2 separate regions of the Homo sapiens genome follow, and region 1 is linked to region 2. The links are contacts of gene promoters, found by promoter capture Hi-C in human tissues and cell types (Jung and others, 2019). All regions are on one chromosome and are shown on one strand. Each heading gives the region's core, a stretch centred on a gene start or on the middle of the fragment in contact. The rest is flanking DNA. Distances are from core to core; before and after follow the strand shown. Region 1 has its middle 41 kb from the start of RBFOX2. Region 2 holds the start of RBFOX2 (RNA binding fox-1 homolog 2).

Region 1 (7,885 bases), core at 3,405-5,904, 42 kb after region 2:
GTCCGCAGCCCACGTGCTGCGCGGTCTCTTCTCCAGGCCACCCCGCTTGTCTAGCTATGCGCTGGGGGCAGGGAAAGATCTCCCTGTAAGATCTCCCTTACATGTGGACATCTGAGAGCTGAGATCTCGATGACCCCGGAAGACCCTTACACCCGGAGTGGAGCGGAAGCAGGATGAGAGAATATTGACTGAGCCCTGCCAGCCACTGTTCTAAGCACTTTTTCCCTGTTCCTGCCGATTTGCTCCTCACAACAACCATAGGAAGTGGAGACTATGATTATCCCCGTTGCACAGTAAGGAAACTGAGGCAAAAGGCGGTTAGGTAACTTGGCGATGTCTCCCGGCTAGGGATAGCAGAATGGGATAGAAACGCAGGCCACGCGGTCTGGAGCGGTGGCTCACGCCTTTAATCCCAGTACTTAGGGAGGCCGAGGCGGGCGGGTTACCTGGGGTCAGGAGTTCGAGACCAGCCTGGCCAACATGGTGAAACCCTATCTCTACTAAAAATACAAAAATTAGTCGGGGTGGGCACCTGTAATCCCAGCTACTCGAGGCTGAGGCAAAAGAATCGCTTGAACCCAGGAGGCAGAGGTGGCAGTGAGCCGAGATCACCCCACTGCACTTCAGCCTGGGTGGCAGAACAAGACTCTGTCTCAAAAAAAAAAAAAAGAATAAAAAAAAGAAAGGCAGGCCACCCGGTGGTGGTCCCTGTGCTCCTCCCCACCCACCCCCGCACTGTGCTGGGCGGTGAGGAGGCGGCTGGCCCAGGAGGTGGGGGTGTGGAGTGGGGCACATCAGAGATTTCAAATTGACCAAGGTCTGTTTTGTGTCAGTTTGTCAGTTTTATGTGTCAGCTTGGCTAAACTATGGTCTCCTGTTATTTGATCAAACACTAATCTATTTTTTCTTTTAGTTTAAAAAATAATAATTAAATGAAAAAATCCTGGCTAATGTTTTTTTTTTTGTAGAGACAGGGTTTTGCCTTGTTGCCCAGGCTGGCCTCTGACCCTTGGGCTCAAGTGATCTGCCACCATGCCTAGCCTCAAACACTAATCTAGATGTTGCTTGAAGGCATTTTGTAGATGTGATTTGTCTATAATTAGTTTACTTCAAGTAAGGGAGATTATCCCAGATAATCTGGGTGAGTCTGAAAGACTTTATGGGTAGAACTGAGGTGCCCTTGAAGAGGAAGAAATTCTGCCAGCCAATAGCAATTTCAGCTTGTGCTGAAGAGTTCCAGCCTTCCTAACAACCAGCCCTACAAATTTCGGACTTGCCTAGCCAGCCCTGTGTGTATAAACCAATTCCTTGCAATAATCACACCTACACCCTCACCCCACCCCCCTCCCCAAATACATGTATATATGGAGAGAGAGGGAGAGAGAATATAAAATCATACATATATCATATATCTCCTATTTGTTCTGTGTCTTTAATTTCTCTAGTTGACCCCTGACTGATGCAATGACCCAAGAGCAGGCAGATGCCCGGGGGGCGTTTATGATACCTCTCCTAGGACTTGGCTCAATCTGAGTCCCTCAACGGCCATCTGCAACCCTGAGGAGGGTAGGAAAATCCCAAATTGACTGAGATTACATTTCCATCATCAACAGCAATGGAGAATCAATAAAGAAATTTAGTTCAGATATTGAAAAATGAAGAGGGCTGGGTGCAGTGGCTCACGCCTGTAATCCCAGCACTTTGGGAGGCCGAGGCGGGTGGATCACCTGAGGTCGGGAGTTCGAGACCGGCCTGGCCAACATGGTGAAAACTCATCTTTACTAAAAATACAAAAATTAGTTCTGGTGGGTGCCTGTAATCCCAGCTACTCGGGAGGCTGAGGCAGGAGAATTGTTTGAACCCATTAGGCAGAGGTGGCAGTGAGCCGAGATCACCCCATTGCACTTCAGCCTGGGTGACAGAACAAGACTCCGTCTCAAGGAAAAGAAAAAAAAAAGAAGAAAGTCACAGTTTTTGCACTATCAAGTTTATGTGCTAAGATTCATACCTCATTTTAACAGCCTACATCTACTTCTGCGTGGACCAGAAGGACAGAGCCACAATAACACTGACCAAACCATAGTAATAGCACAATCGTTGCTACAAAACATTTGCAAATAATCAGATAATATATCTGATTAGGGCCTTGTATCCAGAATATATAAAGAGCTCTTATTGCAACAACAAGTAGAAAACAGATCAATTTAAAAATGGGCAAAGGTAGGCCAGGCACAGTGGCTCACACCTATAATCCCAGCACTTAGGGAGGCCGAGGCGGGTGGATCACCTGAGGTCAGGAGTTTGAGACCAGCCTGGCCAACATGGCGAAACTCCGTCTCTACTAAAAGTACAAAATTGAGCCGGACGTGGTGGTGAGAGTCTGTAATCCCAGCTACTTGGGAGGCTGAGGCAGGAGAATCGCTTGAACCCAGGAGATGGAGGTTGCAGTGAGCTGAGATCTCGCCATTGCACTCCAGCCTGGGCGACAAGAGTGAGACTCTGTCTCAAAATAAAAAATAAAATAAAATAGGCAAAGGACTTGAATATCCAAAGAAGATAAACAAATGGCCAATAAGCAAACAATACTTTCAAGCACAAAAGATGCTCGACATAATTAGTCATCAAGGAAAAGGCAAATCAGAACCACACGGGACTCACTTCACATCCACCAGGATGACTATAGTCCTTACAGTAAGAGAATAGCAGATGGCAGGTATTGTGCTTTACTTGTATTAAGTAACTTAATCCTCACAGTAGCCTCGTGAAGGAGGGATGGCTATTAGCTCATTTACAAAAGAGGAACTGAGGCCTGGAAAGGTGAAATGATTGCCCCAGTGTTCCACGGCTGGTCAGTGGGTGTCAGAATTTAAGACCTGGGCTGTCTGCTTCCAAAGCTGTGCTATCCAGCTTTAATGACTGTGCTATACTGGTCTCTAGCAAAATTATTGAAAATTTCCCTCTCAGACCCACCATTTACCTTTATTGCTCCCAGAGACCCTCACATGTGCTCCTTAGCTACCAAAAACAGACTTCTTCTTTCTCCTGGCATTTGTCCCATGTCCTTTGGTCAGTCCAGAACTCACTAGGAGGCTCCCAGACGCTGTGTCCGTGTTTCTCCTCCAGACCGACGATGCTGCCTGTGTCACTGCCTCAGGGCCATGTCACTGCTGCTGCCCCACTGGACTCCCACGGTCCTAGCCACCAGCCACTCCCCTCCTTCTTCCTGGCTAGCAAGGTTTACTGACTACCATAGAGGCGGAAAATGCCAGATGCTCGGTTTCCCAGGTTCCCTTTACAGTTACAGGTGACCATGTGACCGTGTTCTGGTCAATGACATATAAGGAGAGTCTTCTGAGAAAGATTTTCTCTCCTGGCCAGAATAGAGAGAGAGGGTGAGGTAGATGGAAAGAGCGGGAAGCTGGGCGCAGTGGTTCACACCTGTAATCCCAACACTTTGGGAGGCCAAGGCAGGTGGATCACCTGAGGTCAGGAGTTCGAGACCAGCCTGGCCACATGATGAAACCTTGTCTCTACTAAAAATACAAAAATTAGCTGGGTGTGGTGGTGTGGGCCTGTAATCCCAGCTATTTGGGAGGCTGAGGCACGTGAATCACTTGAACCCAGGAGGCGGAGATTGCAGTGTGCTGATCATGCCACTGCACTCCAGCCTGGGCAACAGAGTGAGACTCCGCCTCAAAACACACACACACACACACACACACACACACACACACACACACACACAAAACAGTGGGAGAGAGAGTAAGAGTGAGGGAGGGAGCAAGAAAGCTAGAGTGAGGAAAGTTAACTTTTCTTGTTGTTCTGACTACTCCTTTTCTTCCTGGCTTTGGAGACAATTGTATAAGAATGTAATGGCGGCTGAGCGTGGTGACTCACACCTGTAATCCCAGCACTTTCGGAGGCCGAGGTGGGTGGATCACTAGGTCAGGAGATCGAGACCATCCTGGCTAACATGGTGAAACCCCGTCTCTACTAAAAATACAAAAAAATTTAGCTGGGTGTGGTGGCGGGCGCCTGTAGTCCCAGTTACTCGGGAGGCTGAGGTGGGAAAATGGCGTGAATCCGTGAGGTGGAGGTTGCAGTGAGCCGACATCGTGCCACTGCACTTCAGCCTGGGCGACAGAGCGAGACTCTGTCTCAGAAAAAAAAAAAAAAAAAAAAAAGAATGTAATGGCTTGCCTGGGCATGGTGGCTCACGCCTGTATTTCCAGAACTTTGGGAGGCCAAGGCAGGTGGATCACTTGAAGTCAGGAGTTCACGACCAGCCTGGTCAACATGACAAAACCCTGTTCCTACTAAAAATACAAAAATTAGCTGGGTGTGGTGGCGGGCACTTGTAGTCCTAGCTACTCAGGAGGCTGAGGCAGGAGAATTGCTTGAGCCTGGGAGGCAGAGGTTGCAGTGAGCCAAGGTGACGCCACTGTACTCCAGCCTGGATGACAGAGTGAGACTCTGTCTCAAAAAAATTTAAAAAAGAATGTGATGGCTGGAACTGTGGCAGCCATACTGCAACTATGAGGTGACAAGTCTGAAGATGAAAGGTATCATACTCTGCATGGCAGAATGAAAGGATGGAAGAACATGGGTTCTTCATGATTAGTAGAGCAGCTAAGGCTTAGCAATGGAACTGCCTACTTCCAGCTTTCTTGTTAAATGAGGTAACTATTTTTATTGTTTAGACAGCTTAGCAATTTGACAGTCTGTTATTTGTAGCTGAAGGCATCTTTGTTTTATTATCATTATTTTTTGAGACAGAGTCTCACTCTGTCACCCAGGTTGGAGTGCAGTGGCATGATGGCTCACTACAAGCTCCATCTCCTGGGTTTCAAACAATTCTGGTGCCTCAGCCTCCAACGTAGCGGGAATTACAGGCATGCGCCACCACACCCGGCTGATTTTTGTAATTTTAGTAGAGATGGGGTTTTGCCATGTTGGCCAGGCTGGTCTCAAACTCCTGGCCTCAAGTGATTCATCTGCCTTGGCCTCCCAAAGTGCTGGAATTACAGATGTGAGTCACTATGCCGGCCGTTTAAAGTTTTTTTCTTTTTAGAGACAGGGTCTTGCTCTGTGGCCCAGGCATGAACATAGCTCAATTCAGTCTCAAACTCCTGGGCTCAAGTGATCCTCCTGCCTCAGTCTCCCAAGTAGCTAGGACTACCTATGCACACCACCCAGCTGACTAATTTTTATTTTTTTATTTTTGTACAGATGGGGGTCTTGCTCTGTTGCTCAGGCTGGTCTGAAACTCCTGGCCTGAAGCAATCCTGCCTTTACCTCCCAAAGTGTGGGGATTACAGGCGTGGAGCCACCATGCCCAGTCATGAAAGCATTTTTGCCTGATACCCTGCCACACTGGAGCTGGAAAAAACACCTCCTCCCAAAGAAGTTTAAAACTTTATTGGCCATGAAAAGAGCTGAGGCCCTATAGAAGAGTGGAAAAGTATGAGTTTGTGTTCCAGTCTTACCCTCCACAACTTAATAGCCACCTGCCTTTGAACAAGAGCTTAACTTCTCTGAGCCTCCGTTTACTCATCTGACCACTGCCTGGCACATTGGCCTACATGTATAATAGGGATAATAATTTTTTTTTTTTTTTGAGAAAAAGTCTTGTTCTGTTGCCCAGGCTGGAGTGCAGAAGCATGATCTCGGCTCACTGCAACCTCTGACTCCTGGGTTCAAGCAATTCTCTTGTCTCAGCCTCCCAAGTAGCTGGGATTACAGGCATGTTCCACCATGCTCGTTTGATTTTTGTATTTTTAGTAGAGACACGTTTCACCATGTTAGCCAGGCTGGTCTCGAACTGCTGACCTCAGGGGATCCACCCGCCTCGTCATCCCAAAGTGCTGGGATTACAGGCATGAGCCACCACATCTGGCCTATAAATTTGTTTTTAGAAGGAGGGTTTGGGGGAAATTTTTTAAAATAAAAGCTTCTAGCAAGCCTCCTACACCATCCCAATCAATCTCTGTGCTTTTTTTAAAAAAAAAAAAAAAAAAAAGGAGGCCAGGTGCAGTGGCTCACACCTGTAATCCCAGCATTTTGGGAGGCTGAAGTGGACAGATCACTTGACCCCCGGAGTTTGAGACCAGCCTGGGCAACATGGTGAAACCCTGTCTCTACAACAAAAATACAAAAATTAGCCGGGTGTGGTGGTGCACACCTGTGGTCCCAGCTACTAGGGAGGCTGAGGTGGGTGGATCACCTGAGCCTGGGGAGGTCAAGGCTCCAGTGAGCTGTGATCGCGTCACCGTGCTCCAGCCTGGATGACAGAGTGAGATTCTGTTTAAGAAAAAAAAAAAAAAAAGTGGGGGGGTGGGGAAGAAAAATAAAGAAAACAAGAGGCCAGGCATGGTGGCCCATGCCTGTAATCCCAGCATTTTGGAAGGCCGAGGTGGGCAGATCACGAGGTCAGGAGATTGAGACCATCCTGGCCAACATGGTGAAACCCTGTCTCTACTAAAAATACAAAAAAAGAGCCAGGCATGGTGGCAGGCGCCTGTAGTCCCAGCTACTTAGCATGCTGAGGCAGGAGAATCGCTTGAACCTGGGAGGCAGAGGTTGTAGTGAGCCCAGATCGTGCCACTGCATTCCAGCCTGGGTGAGAGAGCGAGACACCATCTCAAAAAAAAAAAAAAAAAATTAAGAAAATCAGAAGCCCTGCTGTCTGTCTGTACCCAAGCCCTTCCACCAAGAGAGCTAGTCTAGGTGTGAGATCTCACACTGTCTTTGTAGCCATCTAAAAACAATAATAATAACAAACTGGACAGTATACAATAATAAATAGATAAAAAAGGGCAGAGGAGTTGAATATCCAAAGAAGATAAACAGGCCAGGCACAATGGCTCTTGCCTGTAATTCTAGTACTTTGGGAGTCCGAGGCAGGTGGATCACTTGAGGTCAGGTGTTCAAGACCAGCCTGGCCAACATGGTGAGACCCCATCTCTACTAAAAATACAAAAACTAGCTGGGCGTGGTGACATGTACCTGTAGTCCCAGCTACTTGGGAGGCTGAGGCAGGAGAATCATTTGAAACCCAGGAGGTGGAGGTTGCAGTGAGCCAAGATCACGCCATTGCACTCCAGCCTGAGCGACAGAGCAAGACTCTGTCTCAAAAAACAAAGAAACAAACAAAGGAACAAAAAACAACAGAAAAACAAAAACAAAGAAGACAAACAAATGGCCAATAAGCATATGAAAAGATGCTCAATATACTTAGTCATTAAGGAAATGCAAATCAAAACCACAATGAGATATCACTTCCCATCCACTAGGATGGCTATAATCCAAAAACCAGAAAATAACCAGTACTGGTGAGATGTGGAGAAGTTGAAACCCTTGCATATTACTGAATGGAATGATAAATGGGAGTTACTATGGAAAACAGTAACTGCTTTGGGCCTGGTGCAATGGCTCATGTCAGTAATCCTAGCACTTTGGGAGGCCGAGGTAGAAGGATCACTTGAGGCCAGCCTGGGCAACATGATGAAACCCTACCTCTACAAAAAAAAAAGTGTGTGTATATATATAAAAGTATATAATATATAAAAGTATATATATATAAAAGTATATATATATAAAAGTATATATATAAAAGTATATATATATAAGTATATATATAAAAGTATATATATATAAAAGTGTATATATATAAGTATATATATAAAAGTGTATATATATAAGTATATATATAAAAGTGTATATATATAAGTATATATATATAAAAGTGTATATATATAAAAGTATATATATATAAAAGTGTATATATATAAAAGTGTATATATATATATATATATATATATGTGTGTATATATATATTAGCTGGGTGTAGTGGCATGTGCCTTTAGTCCCAGCTACTCAGGAGGCT
Region 2 (7,353 bases), core at 1,618-4,117:
ACCTACAACAATGGGAATGTATAGAAGGCCGGGTGTGGTGGCTCACACCTGTAATCCCAACATTTTGGGAGGCTGAGGTGGGTGAATCACCTGAGGTCAGGAGTTCGAGACCAGCCTGGCCAACCTGGTGAAACCCCCTCTCTACTAAAAATAAGAAAAATTAGCTGGGCATGGTGGCAGACGCCTGTAATCCCATCTACTCAGGAAGCTGAGGCAGGAGAATCCCTTGAACCCAGAGGTGGAGGTGGAGGTGGAGGTTGCAGTGAGCCGAGATCGTGCCATTGCACTCCAGCCTGGGCAAAAAAAAAAAAAAGAGAATGTATAGAAAGAAAATAAAATACAAGAAGTGAAAAAAGGATTCTCGGAGGGATAACTCTCAGCTGCCAATTTGTACCCCCAAGGACCTAACCACTCTTTCCTCTGCACACCCCTGCGAAGTCCCTACACACTGCTCCATTTCCAAATATCACTATCTTTAGCCAGTTTGAAGGCAACCAACAGATAATAGGCCCCAGGAGTAAATGAGGGAAAGGGACGGGGGTCTCACTATTAACTAGGATTGACAGAAATGATAAATGAATACATACACACACACACACACACACACACACACACACCAAGTAGAACCTGCTCACCAGCACCTACATCCAGTCTTCCCTCCTTATCATCCAATATTAGCTCACCTCACCTGAAGTCTCCCACATTCCTGTCTTTTTTGCCATGGCCCTGAGCTTTTACTTCTCACAATCCCTCTGCCTGACAGAGTTCTAATGGAAAATAAAAGCAGGCAAACAAAACAAAAGAATTCAAAAATAAACACCAAGAGGGTCACTTTACCTAAATCAACAGAAGTAACAGGGTAAACTCTGCAAAGGAGACCAAGAAGCATACAACAAACATGCTAGGCTTAAGTACAGCTCTGTCCCTAACACAGGAAGTCAGGCAGAGGCTTGAAAAGCAGGGAGCAGAGCACAGGAAGTCTTTTAGCACTGCAGAGATTTCCAAGAGTGGTGTAATGGAGACAGCACAGGAATAGGAATTAGAAGACCAGGCTTCTAGTTCTAGTTTTACTATTAGCTAACTGGGTGGCCTTACCCAAGTCACCATCTTCTCTGGACTTCTGATTCCCCATCTATAAAATAAGGTGGTTAAAACAAGCTGGGACTTGAATCTCCTCCAAAAAAAACAAAGATGAAAACTATTGACTCTCCTCCACCAAAAAGTGCACATCACCTACTATGAGTAAGAATCTTCCAAGTCTTCCCAGGTTAAGAACCCCTGGAAAAGATGATGTCTAGTCCTCCTAGCATCCCTCTAACATCCTATGACTCCGAGAGAATTAGGCACAAGTCTGCACAACTGTTGGTAGGTGAGACTCATCATGTCATAGCAGTATTTTCTGGGCAAAGACCAAATCGTAAAACCTCCAAAGGTTTCAAGGTCTTCTTCAAAACTATGAAGTCAGCTGACATCAATACCTTTCCCATTCCCTACCCAAATTAACCACGTTTATCTTTCAATCCAGAATTGAGAATCCAGTCTTCTAATAGCCCTATAAAAAAATTTTTTTTATAGCCCGGGACATTAAAGAGCTATTTTGTGTCCTGGTGATGTAGAATGCAATTGGCAAAGAACAGGAGGGACATGTCTAGTGTCTCCCTTCAGACTCATTAGTATGCTCCACAAAGTAAATGAGACTGAGCACCACCGTGTCCCCATAACATTACCAAACTCCTTGTACTTCTCACACTCTGTGTGATTTAACCCACAATCTCAGCCACATCCCCTCGGGGCTCTCTCGAGGAGTTTTCTTTTCACTCCTCTCATTGAAATGCCACTTCTCTTCCCCATCCCAGCGTGTGCCCAGGGCTGCCAAAAGGTACTCCCTCTTCTCGGGAGGTTTCCCACCAGATCTCCTTTTCCTCGACTCAGTCCAGAGAAGCCAGGATTTCCCGGCTTCCACTCCACCCCAAGGCACTAAGGAAGGATTTGAAAAAATGGAATCCATCTCAACCTTGTTCGATTTCCCCCCAAAACCTATCCACTCGTCGTGCCTCCTGGCCCCTCAGGAATCAGGACCCTCTCGGGCACACCAGGTTCAGTCCTGCAACCTTCGTTCCTAGCCCGAGCTCGCCCCACCTTCCAACCAGGCCCCGAATGGCCCCCCATCCCACCTCCAACCCAGGACTCCCGGAGGCCCTCCCTCTCTCCAAGCCGGGGAGCCCGGTGTCGACCCTCACGCCCACCCCCGCAATAACTGGGCGCCCCGTCCCGCGCGGTCACCTGCATCCCGCCGCCACCGTCGGCCGCCGCCTCCTCAGTGCGCGGCCGCTTGCTCAGGCCGGGATCGGCTCCGTCTCCTCCCGCTCCGGGCACCGGCAGCTCCAGCTCCGACTCCCGCTTCATGCCCCGGGCGGCGGCGCCGGGCCCGAGCTGAGGCGGCTGATGCGGCTGGGCGCCCTCCGCCATCCGCCCGCGCCCCCCTCGCCTCCGGGAGCCGGGCGACCCGCGACAGGCCACCTCCCCCTGGGCCTCGGCCCCGACTGTCGCGACAGGCGGGCGCGCGCCTGCCCCCGCCCCCGCGTGCGTGCGTGCGTGCGCGCGAGCGGACTCCGCGCCCCTCCGCGCCTCGCGGCCGCCGCTCCTTGCCTGACCGCTTGCTCCCCGCCCGCCCGCCCGCCGGGTTGTCGGCGCGGGGCCACTGGCGGGTCGTGATGAGCACTCGCTCGCGCCCCCGCACGCACACGCGAAACCCGGCCCGGCCCGCCGCGCCGCCCCGCCTCTCGCACTCCCGGAGCTCGCCCACCGGCCGCGCTGGCTCACACTCTCCCTCACAGCACGCCGGCCGAGGGAGGAAGGGGGCGGTCCGGGCTCCCGAGGCGTGGGGAGGGCTGTTTATTTTGGGGGGAGGAGGGGCGCGAGGCAGGAACGAGCTGACTGGCCGGGATCCTCCGACCCGCCACTGTGGCAGCACCGGGAAGGCGGGGAGAGAGAAAGAGGGAGGGAGGGAGGGACCGGGATGTAGAACTCCAGCCCGCGCGGGAGGCTACGGCGAGGGGGGCGGTGGCGGCCCGCGGGGGGGGCGGGGCCAGGCCCCCTCGGCAATCTCCGTAGTCTCCTCGCTGGCTGCCCGAGGGAGGCCGGGAAGCGATCGGGGAAGCTCGGGAATCTCCGGCACGGGCCTGGGATTGTCCTGGAGGCACAGCGCGGCTGGAGTGCGGGGCAGCGCGGGGGGGGCGGGGTCTGTCTCCTTTCTGGGCGGGGCCGTATCCTGGAGCAGGCGGGGCTTGAGAGACCCGAAGGCCAGGGAGTGGCTCCTGCTTGCGGTACTAGTTGTACAGAGTTAAGTCCTGAGTTTACTCGCCTGAGCACCTTGGTTCCCGGAGAGGGAATGGGCACTCTGTGAGAGGCAGGCTATTTGCCTGCTTCCCCTCCCGCAGAAGAAAAAATGTCTCAAATTGGAAGGTCGAGGAATGAAGCCACCCCTCTATGGTTCACCCCAGTTCTGAGAGCTTTTACTCTAATATAACTCACATTCCTAATGAAGTTAGTAATAATACCCGATGTTTGTAAGAGCTTTAGAGTTTGCACAATGCATCCACAGACCCGTTTCAAACTGGTGATATAAGTAGATACCATGATCTCCATTTCATTGATGATGAAACTGAACCTTAGTTAAATCCTGCAGCAAAAAAGTGGCAGATCCGGAATTCAGAACACGAGAACATATTCTCTTTCTTCGTACCTTGCTGCCTGAGGAGCACTTTATGACTTACCAACTTCGTGGAGATAGAGATATCTGTGCAATAGATTCTCTCCCCTACCAGACTGTGAGGACAAGGACTGCAGTGACTTCCTCTGAGTTCCATATCGTGCCCTGTACGTTATAGAAATAAAAGGATATTGCGTGAATAACCTGGATTCTAATCTTGGCTTTGCTAACTAGCTTAAACAAGTTACTTCATCTCTTTGGACCTCAGCTCCATCATTTGTAAAATGAGATGGTTTGGATCAGTGGCTTTCAACCAAGGAGAAATTTTGCCATTCCACCACCTCCACTCCCACATTTGTCAGTGACTGAAGGCATTTTTTTTTTTTTTTTTTTTTTTTTTTTTGAGACAGAGTCTCGCTCTGTCGCCCAGGCTTAAGTGCAGTGGCGCGATCTCGGCTGACTGCAACCTCTGCCTCCTGGGTTCAAGCGATTCTCCTGCCTCAGCCTCCCCAGTAGCTGGGACTACAGGTGTGCGCCACCAACTAATTTTTGTATTTTTAGTAGAGATGGGGTTTCACCATGTTGGCCAGGCTGGTCTCGAACTCCTGACTTCAGGTGATCCGCCTGCCTCGGCCTCCCAAAGTGCTGAGATTACAGGAGTTAGCTGCCGCGCCTGGCCGACTGAAGGCATTTTTGATTGTTACAGTGGGGAGGTGCTGCTGGCATCTAGTGTGTAGAAGCCAGGAATGTTGCTTGACATCCTATCATGCACAGGACGGTCCCCCCAGGAGAGTTATCCAACCCCAAATGTCAATAGTGCGGAGGTTGAGAAACGCTGGGTTAGATGATTTCCAAGGTCATTTCCAACCAGTGTGTGATTTGGCCTTTGAACCTGGGTTTAACCTGGCTGGGGCTGGAACAGTACAACAGTAAAGATCCCTGCTTCAGAGTCAGACCAACCCAGATGAGAACGCAGGCTTCCCACCTCCTGCCCACGTAATCTGGGACCAGTGGTGACTAAGAACTTCCATATAAAAGGTGTTTGGGGATTGCAGACTGGTTGGAAGGGAAGTCGGGAGGACTTGCCTTGAAGGTGAGTTGTTGTATTGAGCATATTGTTTGTATTACTTAGGCTGTGTTATAAATCAGTAAAAATAGCAGAGTTTTAGCTCTGCCACCTGCAAGTCATGATGCCTTGTGACAGCTACTTACCCCCTCTGTGTCTCAGTTTCTTCATCTGCAAATTAGGATAACAATAATACCTTCCTGAAAAGATTATTGTAAGAATTTAATGTTATCACGTTTAGAACTTTGAACGGAATGATTTAGGATAAGCGCTCCATAAGTGTTACAGCTAACACTTATAGCTAACTAATAATAGCTTATTAGTAGTACCATTATCACTTTATTCACTTTTTTTTTTTCAGATGGAGTCTCGCTCTGTCACCCAGACTGGAGTGCAGTGGTGTGATCTCGGCTCACTGCAACCTCCACCTCCTGGGTTCAAGCAATTCTTGTGCCTCAACTTCCCAAGGAGCTGTGATTACAGGCGCCCACCACCACGCCCGGCTAATTTTTTGTATTTTTAGTAGAGACAGGGTTTCACCATGTTGGCCAGGCTGGTCTCGAACTCCTGACCTCAAGTGATTCCCCCCCTTTGGCCTCCCGAAGTACTGGGATTACAGGCATGAACCACCAGGCCTGACCTTTATTCACATTTTAAATGAGAGTGAAAAAACATTCATTGTCAAGATCAAAGAATATCATTATCATTATTATTGGGTTTTTTTTAATTATGTAAGGTGACTTGAGTGGGGCTGCTAGAGATTCACATGCGGCAAGCAAAGCACCCCAGTAACCCCTTGGTGCAACCACTATGCTGGGCAAATTACTTTGTTTCACTAAGCCTTCCATTCCTCATTTGTAGGATAACAATAATAGTCACAGTGTTGTTCTAAGGATTAAATGGGACAAAAGTAAACACTTAGCACAGTGCCTAACATAGTAACTGCTTAATAGGTGGTAATTATTCATCAACTAATTTGGTTAGTGATACAGTAAGCTTAACCAGGGGCCTTGGAAAGAGAAGCCTTAAACAACTTCTTCTTCTTCTTCTTCTTTCTTCTTTCTTCTTTCTTCTTTCTTCTTTCTTCTTTCTTCTTCTTTCTTCTTCTTCTTCTTCTTTTTTTTGAGACAGGATCTCACTGTCTCCCAGGCTGGAGTGCAGTGGCCCAATCTCAGCTCACTGCAACCCCCGCCTCCCAGATTCAAGCGATTCTCCTGCCTCAGCCTGCCAAGTAGCTGGGATTAGAGTCACGCACCACCATGCCCAGCTAACTTTGTGTATTTTTAGCAGAGACAGGGTTTCACCATGTTGGTCAGGCTGGTCTCAAACTCTTGGCCTCAACTGATCCTCCCGCCTCAGCCTCCCAAAGTGCTGGGATTACAGGCGTGAGCCACCACGCCCAGCCCTGACACATCTCTTAGTATTATTATTTGGACCACCAAGGTGGAAGTCCAAGTGCCTACAAGCTTGTTCTTGTGCTGAATTAGCCCCAACCTAAGTCAGCGGTTTCCACTTGGCAGTACCCCACAACCTGATCCTGTTCAACCAAGCAGTATGGCTTTGAGGGATAACCAGGATATTTCCTGGTGGCCTATGAAACAACAGCGGGTTTTGTCTTTTTTTTTTTTTTCTTTAACCTAGGGACATCAGCAGTTGGTCTTCTGAAATTTTTACTTATTGAACTGGTAGCATAAGAATTCTCCCTTCCCAACTGGGCATGGTGGCTCACACCTGTAATCCCAGCACTTTAGGAGGCCGAAGCGGGCAGATCACTTGAGGTCAGGAGTTCAAGACCAGACTGGGCAAAATGGTGAAACCCCATTTCTACTAAAAATACAAAAAATTTAGCCAGGTGTGGTGACAGCTGCCTGTAATCCCAGCTACTCAAGAGGCTGAGCCAGTAGAATTGCTTGAATCTGGAAGGCAGAGGTTGCAGTGAGCCGATATCGCGCCACTGCATTCCAGCCTGGGCTACAGAGTGAGACTCTCTCTCCAAAAAAAGAGAATTCTCCCTTCCCTGCTTGCCTTGCCAAACTACTGAAATCTTAATGATGTTAGATCTTCCTGGGCTGTCCCCTGACCCAGCAAGAAATGAGATTTGAGATCGGGGCTGCCAGTGACTCAAATTTTTGTTATTCAGGTAACGCTCAAGTCCCTTAGAAACAGAGCAATGCAGTATAGAAATGTCTGAATGACCAGGCAGAACAAAGAAAAATTGGACCCTGCCCTGGAAACAAGCATTATGTATTTAAGGAGAAAGAGGAGAGTTAAACGCCTACAAATCATAGAAGAGGCAAAATGCATCCATGGCAGCACAAAGACCAGATCATTTCTTTTCTTTTTTTTTTCTTTTTTTTTTTTTTTTGAGACAGAGTCTTGCTCCGTTGCGCAGGCTGGAGTGCAGTGGTGCAATCTTGGCTGACTGCAAGCTCCGCCTCTCGGGTTCACGCCGTTCTCCTGCCTCAGCCTCCCGAGTAGCTGGGACTACAGGCGTCTACCACCACACCCGGCTAATTTTTTGTATTTTTAGTAGAGACAGGGTTTCACCATGTTAGCCAGGATGGTCTTGATCTCC

The links. Contacts are between HindIII fragments. The study calls those that stand out against the background at their distance.
Region 1: a contact is called between a fragment that was not itself captured here and the fragment with the promoter of RBFOX2 in region 2, in 1 of the 25 tissues and cell types used here (heart right ventricle).

Annotation. Positions count from the first base shown.
Region 1 is chr22:36,066,341-36,074,225 of GRCh38, forward strand. No RefSeq gene overlaps it. Among named protein-coding and RNA genes, the nearest start is that of RBFOX2, 41 kb to the left of the region's middle. The HindIII fragment of the contact is 6,349 bases long and covers 1,481-7,829 here.
Region 2 is chr22:36,025,957-36,033,309 of GRCh38, forward strand. It overlaps RBFOX2 (RNA binding fox-1 homolog 2), which reads right to left and starts at 2,868. Exons shown (of 14, transcript NM_001349999.2): 1 at 2,284-2,868. The coding sequence starts at 2,469. RefSeq lists a silencer at 3,034-3,103. The HindIII fragment of the contact is 7,839 bases long and covers 1-6,009 here.